Regions from separate parts of the Homo sapiens genome. Here regions 1 and 2 are each linked to region 3. The links are contacts of gene promoters, found by promoter capture Hi-C in blood cells and fetal thymus (Javierre and others, 2016). All regions are on one chromosome and are shown on one strand. The core of a region is centred on a gene start or on the middle of the fragment in contact, and the rest is flanking DNA. Distances in the headings are between cores, read along the strand shown.

The links. The method cuts DNA at HindIII sites, captures the fragments that hold promoters and counts their contacts. A CHiCAGO score of 5 or more calls a contact.
Region 1: a contact is called between the fragment with the promoter of ANKRD52 here and a fragment that was not itself captured in region 3, in 1 of 17 cell types (activated CD4 T cells). The highest score is 5.5, in activated CD4 T cells.
Region 2: the fragment with the promoter of ERBB3 here is called in contact with a fragment that was not itself captured in region 3 in 1 of 17 cell types (total CD8 T cells); the score reaches 5.9 in total CD8 T cells.

What each region holds. Positions count from the first base shown.
Region 1 is chr12:56,256,938-56,259,668 of GRCh38, reverse strand. ANKRD52 (ankyrin repeat domain 52) reads left to right here and starts at 1,285. Exons shown (of 28, transcript NM_173595.4): 1 at 1,285-1,426; 2 at 1,758-1,841; 3 at 2,308-2,386; 4 at 2,584-2,654. The coding sequence starts at 1,400. RefSeq lists silencers at 1,027-1,086, 1,097-1,646, 1,667-1,736 and enhancers at 1,797-1,846, 1,927-1,976, 2,283-2,731. The HindIII fragment of the contact is 14,479 bases long and covers 1-2,731 here.
Region 2 is chr12:56,078,724-56,081,442 of GRCh38, reverse strand. It overlaps ERBB3 (erb-b2 receptor tyrosine kinase 3), which reads right to left and starts at 1,278. Exons shown (of 28, transcript NM_001982.4): 1 at 1,061-1,278. The coding sequence starts at 1,142. RefSeq lists an enhancer at 631-1,621. The HindIII fragment of the contact is 9,077 bases long and covers 1-2,719 here.
Region 3 is chr12:55,752,912-55,755,611 of GRCh38, reverse strand. It overlaps GDF11 (growth differentiation factor 11), which reads right to left. Exons shown (of 3, transcript NM_005811.5): 3 at 1-2,700. It also overlaps a transcript of SARNP not described here. Among named protein-coding and RNA genes, the nearest start is that of GDF11, 11 kb to the right of the region's middle. The HindIII fragment of the contact is 2,174 bases long and covers 329-2,502 here.

The sequences.
Region 1 (2,731 bases), core at 36-2,535, 500 kb before region 3:
TTTTTGAAATGTATTTTCGCCGGGTGCGGTGGCTCACGCCGGTAATCCCAGCTCTTTGGGATGCCGTGGCAGGTGGATCACCTGAGGTCAGGAGTTCGAGACCAGCCTGACCAACATGGTGAAACCCCCGTCTCTACTAAAATAAAAAATTAGCCGGGCAGGGTGGCGGGCGCCTGTAGTCTCAGCTACTTGGTAGTCTGAGACAGGATAATCACTGAACCCGGGAGGCGGAGGTTGCAGTGAGCCGAGATCGTGCCACTGCACTCCAGCCTGGGGGACGAGAGTGAAACTCCATCTCAAAAAATAAAATAAAATGTATTTTTATTTTTTAATTTTTTTCCTCTCCCCTCAAGGGAGGATTTTTATATATAAAGCCTTGACAGGACGCCAGCATGCTGCACTTCGTCCATTTCGTGTTCTCTTCAATGTGTATTGAGTTGTGAAACTCTGAACAGGACCCTGGATCACCTTTTATAAATTGTATCAATTTTTCAATCTCCACTTTTCGTCTTCCTCCTTTTTCCGTTTCTGGGTTGAGATGACCTCCATTCATTTCTTCTCTAATTGACGGCTCTCTGGCCTCTCCATTGGAGGAGGGGAAGCGCCACAGGCTGTTCTGGGGAGAAATTGTTGAGTGTTTTCCACTTTAACCTTGCAATGGAATCAGTAAGGAGTTGGAAAATGCCCCTTCTGTTGGTCTTGGCGGCCTTTTCCAGCTGCCAGTTGTCATGGCCTCTTTGTGGGTGTTTTCTGCAGTAGAATCCTCCTTGGGGTTTCTCTGCAGTTTGAGCACTTTTGCTATTTCTTCTCTACCGAACTCACGCCTCCGCCAGTGGAGATACACGCTTTCCCTCCCTCTGGGGCTATTGCCATACATAATTCCCAGTTCTCCACCCGCCAGTTCCTCCTAGTCTGTGGGGGATTTCGGGGTGTGGAATCGCTGACGGGAGGAGTTAGCTCGGGCGGGAGCATTGTGGGCTGGGTAAGATCTGGCCAGCCGTTCGGTCCTCAGTTTGGGAAGCACCGCGGGACTAAGGCCCAGGTTTCCGCTAGGGTCTTGTGGGGAACCCCTTGGGCCGCCAGACTGGAGCGGAGAGCACAGCGCGGCCAGCTGCGTGAGCCGGGGAGCCGGCGCGCGAGTTCGGGGGTGCAGGGGCTGCTGGGGCCGCCAGGGTGGGGCGGAGGGCGCTGCGGCCGGGGTCCGTTTGCGCGGGGAGCGCCGGGACCAGGACGGCCGCCAGGGAGCGCTGCGGCCTCCAACTCGCCCGCCCCCCGGTAGGCGGGGCCGCGCTCTCCCTGCAGCCGCCACCGCAGCCGCCGCCTGGGCCGCTCCGTGTCCCCGGTGGAGCCGCCGCCGCCGCCGCCGGGAGCTCGATGCGGACGGAGCCCGGGCCGAGCCATGGGGATCCTCAGCATCACGGACCAGGTCAGCCCTCCTGCCCTTTCCCGCTTCCTCCTTCCAGGGCTCGGCGCTGCCGTCACGCGAGCCCGGGGATGTGCGGCCTAGGCTGGGCCTGAGCCCGGGGCTCCCGCAGCTCCCGCCCCGCCCCATGCCGCGCTCCCCTCAACCGAGCCGGTGTCCTTGGGGACCTGGCAACCGGCGGAGGCACCGCGGGAGCTCGCTCCAGCCAGAATCCCTAGAGTGGAGCCCCTCCACGGACGCCCCCCACTCAAACCTAGGTGCTCCCCCACCCCCACCCCCACACCGGTTCCGCTCCGGCTCCAGCCCGCTCTCAGAATGCCGGTTCTCTCTGCAGCCGCCCCTGGTCCAGGCCATCTTTAGCCGAGATGTGGAGGAAGTGCGTTCCCTACTCTCGCAGAAGGAGAACATCAATGTGCTGGTGAGTTGGGAGCAGGGAGGATGGCGAGACCGGAATCCTGGCTCCCGTGTTCTGGACCCCTCCCCACCGGTGGGGCGGCTCCGTGTCTCCTCTGCTCAGATGAGGCCGCAGTTCTTTCCATCCTGGAGTGAAAGCCTACTCTGCATTTGGGGATGGAGAGCAGGTCAGGCTTGAAGCCCAGATCACTTGGGCTGGGAATGCCCAGGAACGTTGTTCTCTTCTCAACCTCCGGAGTCTGCAGCGCCCCCACCCCTCCTGGAAAAAGGAGCCGGCTTCTCAGCCCATTGGCCCTGACTCCACCCTCCCTAGGTGCTTGCCTTTGACTCCCAATACCGGGACTTAGGACGCTGCAGAAACTATGGGAAGAGGTTGTGGGGAAGGGCCTGGAGCTCTGAGACTTGGGCTGGGGTCCTTGATAGCCCCCTTACCCCGCGCCCATACTCCCTGCTCTTTTTTGCCTTCCCAGGACCAAGAGAGGCGAACTCCATTGCATGCTGCTGCCTACGTAGGCGATGTCCCCATCCTCCAGTTGCTACTGATGTCAGGTGAAAGTGGGGAGCTGGAAGGTGTGGCACATAGGGAGCGAAGGGAGGGGAGGAGTCTTTTTTGATATTCAAGGATTGCTCTCCCCGGCTTGGTCCAGGCGAGGCTCCAGCTCCATTCAGATTTCCTGGCCTGATTACTGGCTTCCTTCATACCTCCTCCCCACCTTCCATCAAAATAGGAAATTATATCCCCACAGGTGCTAATGTCAATGCTAAGGACACACTGTGGCTGACCCCTCTTCATCGTGCTGCTGCCTCCCGAAACGAGGTATGCACCCCCACCTTCTATTACCCTTTCAAAAAGGATAAGTTGCTTAAAGGTGGGGGTTAAGGGTTAAGGAGCCT
Region 2 (2,719 bases), core at 29-2,528, 330 kb before region 3:
GGGGAAGGGGCCCTGGCTGTGCCAAACCCCAAGCTGAGATCTGAGGGGAGGGGAGGAGATCCACAGAACTTCAGTCCTCAGGTGTCCACGGTCCCAGAGACACCCCAAAGGGGTGGGCTCAGATAGCATGGGAGTCGGGGGAGGACTGGAGAAGAGCAATCCGGGGCTCTGTCTAGGGTCCTAGAGACAGTGTCAGACAATAAGCAAAATGGGGGCGGGAGGCACAAGCTGAGCCCAGGAAGGACTCCCCAAGGCAGGAGGCTTAGAAAGTAGCAGAGGTGCCCTCTTGATCCTCAGGTTGGGGAGAGAAAAGACCAGAGGCTGGACATCCTTGCCCTTACAGCTCCTGGCCCAGGGCCTTGTGTATAGTAGATGCTCAATAAATATGAGTTGTGTTGACCTGGGTCTTGACAAAGAGATGTTGCTTAAGCTCTGCTATACTGAGGAAAGGGGGCGCCAGCCTCTGTTGGGCCTCCTGCCTGATGTCACCTGAACTTGGCCCTCTGGTTAATCTCAGACCTCCCCAGGGCAGGCTCACTCACGGAAGAGGAGGTGCCGCTCCTGTTTTTCCAACACCAGAGAACAACAACCCCCTCCAACCTTCTGTAGCTCCGCCCTGTCGGCAAAACAACGAAACTAGGGGTAGCTGAAATCGGCGCGGGTGGGGGGCAGGGGGTTGGCGAGCAAACCGAGACCCTTCCCGCCAAGGCCCCCACCTCCAAGCACCTCCTGTTTACAGAATGAAGTTCCCTGCTCCCCTCCCTGCAGGGCCCCTCAGAAGTGTGAACTACTGTTTCGGCCTCAGCCTCTTCTGGGGAGACCAATTAGAGGGTCGGCGACGCTCTGGAGAAGGGTGGCGTGAGGGTCCCGGAATGCCGCCCTCGGCCGGACCACGCCGATAACCCGAGCCTGACCGCCCCTCTCCCAGGTGGTCCTGGCAAACCGGGGGCAGCACCCACAACCCCGCGCCGCCTGAGACCGTGCCCATACCCTCCGAGGCTGCGCGCACTGGGTTCCGGCTCCCAGGTGCCGAGCCCGCCGGTGCTCTCGCGCCACTTACCTGCCTGAGAGTTGCCCACCTCGGAGCCCCGGGCCAGGCTGAAAAGCAAGCCCAGCACCTGCAGAGCGTCGTTCGCCCTCATGACTCCGCAGAGGGTGAAGGGAGCCCAGCCAAGTCCGGCCCGGGGGCCCCTAGGCTAGGACATCGAGGCAAGAGCCACCTGAACCGCTGGCGAATTGGTGGCTGCTGCGGCGACGGCAGCGGAGGTTGCAAATTGCAATCGGAGCCGGAGCCGGAGTCCGGGGAGGGATGGCAGGGGAGGGGTGTGTGTGTGTGAGAGAGAGAGAGAGAGGGAGGGAGGAACGCAGAGGGAAGGGGGTGAGTCACGGCCGCGCCCCCTCCCGCGCGAGGCTGGAGTAGGGATTGCGGAGCCTCGGACCGCCTGCCCCGAGCGTGCCACGCCCCGCGGTCCCGCAACTTGGCGGAGCAGATCGAGGATGGGGCTCACCCTAATTTTTCTGCAGGAGATAGGCCAAGGGGAGGTCGAGATTCCGAAAGCCCCCAGATCCAGGGAAGGGTAATGAATGAGGGAGTGGAAAGCTCTCCAAAGCCCTGCCCCCTGAAAGTTGGCCTCGCCCATTAACCAAATCACTCAACTCCCCTAGCCGGTTGGTTCACTTGGTGGATTTTCTCTCAGAATGTGAATATTTCTCTCTGTGTGTTTTTGAGGGGGAGGGTGTTTTTTGCCTCACGTCCAGGCCACCTCAGTTTCTCCCAGACTCGAAACCCCATAATTCATCCACCCAGCCCAGGAACCCGAGCCACAGAGACCGCGTGAAATTGCACTGTCTCTGGCCGCTTCCTCCTCCAGACCCGGCGCCGGCCGGGCCTCTCCCGGGGATTTGGATGGGGGGCGGGGGTGGTTTCCAGCCTGGGAACAGACCCCGGAGCCCGCCTTTCCACTTCTACCCCGGGAGGGGCTCCCGCACCTGTCGCCGTCCCCTCTGCTGCCCCCCACGGCCGCCTGGGAGAACAGCTGCCTCCCCTTCCACACTGGAGTCTGGCCGCACCGTCCGGGCGGCCGCAGTTCCCGCCGCTCTTCTGGGGACCCAGATGGGCACACACCAAGGCGCTTACACCCTCCCAGGTGCCTTCCAAGTCCAGGCTCTCGCAGGAAAGGGGATGGGGCAGTGAAGTGGGACGCGGAGAGGACACTAGAGACTGCGTCCACGAATGGCGTGGACCTCTGGAACCTCCCCCACCAGCTGCCCGGACCTGGCCAGAGGCGGTCGGGCTCCCTGCGGGTTGCTGCCCAAAGCCCTGCTAGTCCCGGGACGGATCCGACCGGCGCCGCCTGGTGCCCATCCGTGGCAGTGGAGTCCCAGACGGCCTTGCATTTCAAATCCCTTAAACTGGTATTCGGGATCTCGCCCGGAGAGCCTAGTTGTTTTCTCCAGAACTTCAAGCCTGAAGACTTCGAAAACAGTTGAGCCTTGATAAAGAAAAATTTCACCCCTCACACCTAGCAAAGACTACCGGCTAACATTCCTTAAACATGCTCCCTATTGATATGCAACCTAGAGGGCCTGTTCTCTACTGGAGAATCTCCGCTTTGGGGAGGTTGGCTTTCTCCAGACCATGTGTATAGTAGTCATAATAATAATAGCAACAACAAAACCATTAACATATACAAACATTTCCATATATCATTTCATTTAC
Region 3 (2,700 bases), core at 166-2,665:
TTTGGAGATGGAACAGACATTGAGGCTTGTAATTGTTTACCTGAGATCTTAGTACCCTTCCTTCCTCTCCCCGTTTCCCTACTATAGTTGATCCAGCATCCAGATGTGGTTAACTGATTCCAATTCCTGAAGCTGTGACATTCTCTGCATACCTGGAAGCTCTTAATGAGGGAGTCTATAAAAGCTGTGGGGAGAACTAGCTTCCTCAGCTGTAAATCTGTACTTTTTTATGGTTCTCTAGGATTATTCTTTTTTTCCACTCTCACTCTAAACTGCCCAGCCCCCCACCCCACCTCTTAAGAACTGCTGAAGATAGAGGCTAGAAGCTTCTGTGAGGATGAGGGCTATAGGAAGGAAGGTGTGAATAAGGGCAGGACTTCTTGGTGTTGAGCTGAGTTCTCTTGCTGTGTCTGATATGAGGAGTGAGGGAGGAACTTAAGGGAGGATAACTTTTTTGCTGTTCTCTTATATGAGGGCCTCTGGCAATGCCACTTATTTCTGATTATTGGAATCCCCCCAAAATTTAACCTCCCCTTCTCTTGCCATATCTAGACTTTTCTTGTTTTTCCCTTCCAAAGGGATTTAAAATTACAGGTTTCACATCTTTCCAGATTCTTTGAGTCCAAGGTGTCCCTAACTTTCTTGTTATCTCTTTCCCTTATGTTATTCCTGTATTTAGGTTTCTACCTCCCGGATCACTTTCAATAGGATAGATTAGAATGTAATATTGTTTAGCAACTACTTAGGTTTAATTTCTTATTCTACCACACTAGCTCTGAGACCCTGCGCAGATAATCATTCTCTTTTCAGACTGTACCAAAAGGAACCCCATTGTGAAGGTTGCTGTGTGAATTAAGTGATATTCTCATATCATGTATTCACACTACAATTTGCTTACCATAATTTGCATAGTAATTATTCAATAAATATTAGCTTTTACTGGGTGATCAGGGTACTGTGGAAATACATATTTCTTTCCCTGAGTAGGTTCTAGCTAGGTATGAGTGCCCTAGTTTGAACATGTTTGTGTGTGCATACACCCAGTTAATGCAGTCGTATTTTGAGAAAAAGAAAAGGCAGAAAGAGTCCCATTCACTCCCTCAAGCCCAGCTCACTGGCAGGAAAGCTGGACATTGTTGCTTTGGAGCATTGATTTTCCTGCTTCTACGCCACTACAGACCAGAAGCTGTAGATGCCACTGCCTGCTGATTCTTAGCTTGGGGCCCCTGCCATTTAAAATATAGGCAAGGTCAGAGTATAGGATAGCTTCCCATGCCTTCGGTTGGAGGATGTTTTAGGATAAAGAAAAGACTTGTAAAAAGTCATCTTGAGTAGTCTTTTTTTGGGTGTTCTCTCAATATAGGAAACAAATGAGCCACAGGGAGAGAAAACCCATTTTCAGCTCAGGCCAAAGTTAGGGGTAGATGTGGATATGGTTCCCTTGGGAAGATAGAATACATAACACTTCTGCTACTCAACCACTTCCAGCCTTAGTCTTGTAGTTGGTCTCGAGTGGGGTCAGTGTGCTGATAGAACTGATAAGACAGGGAAAACATGGCAGTACATTGAACCCGCAGTAGCGCTGTCCCCAATTCTGGATCAGGTTGATGTCACAGGAGCTTTCCTTATTTTTATTTTACTTTAATTATTTTTAGAGACAGTGTCTTACTGTGTTGCTCAGCTTGGAGTACAGTGGCTATTTACAGGCCCAATTATAGCACACTGCAGCCTTGACCCTCTGGCCTCAAGTGGTCCTCCTGCCACAGCCTCCTGAATAGCTGGAACTACAGGAGCACACCACTGGGTCCTGCTTTCCTTTTTTTTTTTTTTTTTTTTTTTTTGGAGATGGGAGTCTCACTCTGTCACCATGCTAGAGTGCAGTGGTGCGATCTCAGCTCACTGCAACCTCCGCCACCTGGGTTCAAGCGATTCTTCTGCCTCAGCCTTCCATGTAGCTGGGATTACAGGCGCACGCCACCACGCCCGGCTAATTTTGGGTATTTTAGTAGAGATGAGGTTTCACAATGTTGGCCAGCATGGTCTCGAACTCCGGACCTTGCATGATCCGCCCGCCTCGGCCCCCCAAAGTGCTGGGATTACAGATGTAAGCCACTGCGCCCAGCCAGCTTTCCTTATTTTTGAAAAATGTGAGTCAGGCAATATTCTTTTGCCATTCCCAACTCATATTCCTGGGGAATTGTGCTCTAGGTACATGGGAAAAATTTTTACAGTGAACTGAAAGAATATTTGAGATGCTATTTTAGCCACTCTTGTGTAACAAGGCAAGTTCGTTGGCTATGTTGGTTTAGATTTTTGTCAAACTTCGTTGAGGAAACCTAGGAACAGGGACTGCAGGAGAATAGGACACTAGCTGGATCATCTCAAGAGAACCTTTAGATCTTCCATACTAGCTGGATCATCTCAAGAGAACCTTTAGATCTTCCATTCTGTGGAGGCTGGGAGAGGGGTCTTGTTGTCTTTGGGACTGTTTTGGCTCAAGCTTTTCAGAGAGGGGTTGTTCTAGGTACCCCCAGTTTCCTGTCCTCTTTCCATCCTTCCTTGGCCTGCATGTCCCAAACCTTATACCACCATGCCCTTAGTGTTTTCTGTCTTGCTCCAGGACCCCATCTTCTTAGTCATTGAACACGAGGTTTCCTGTCTCAGATCCTCTTCACCTCCGGTTCTCCAAGGTGTAAATGT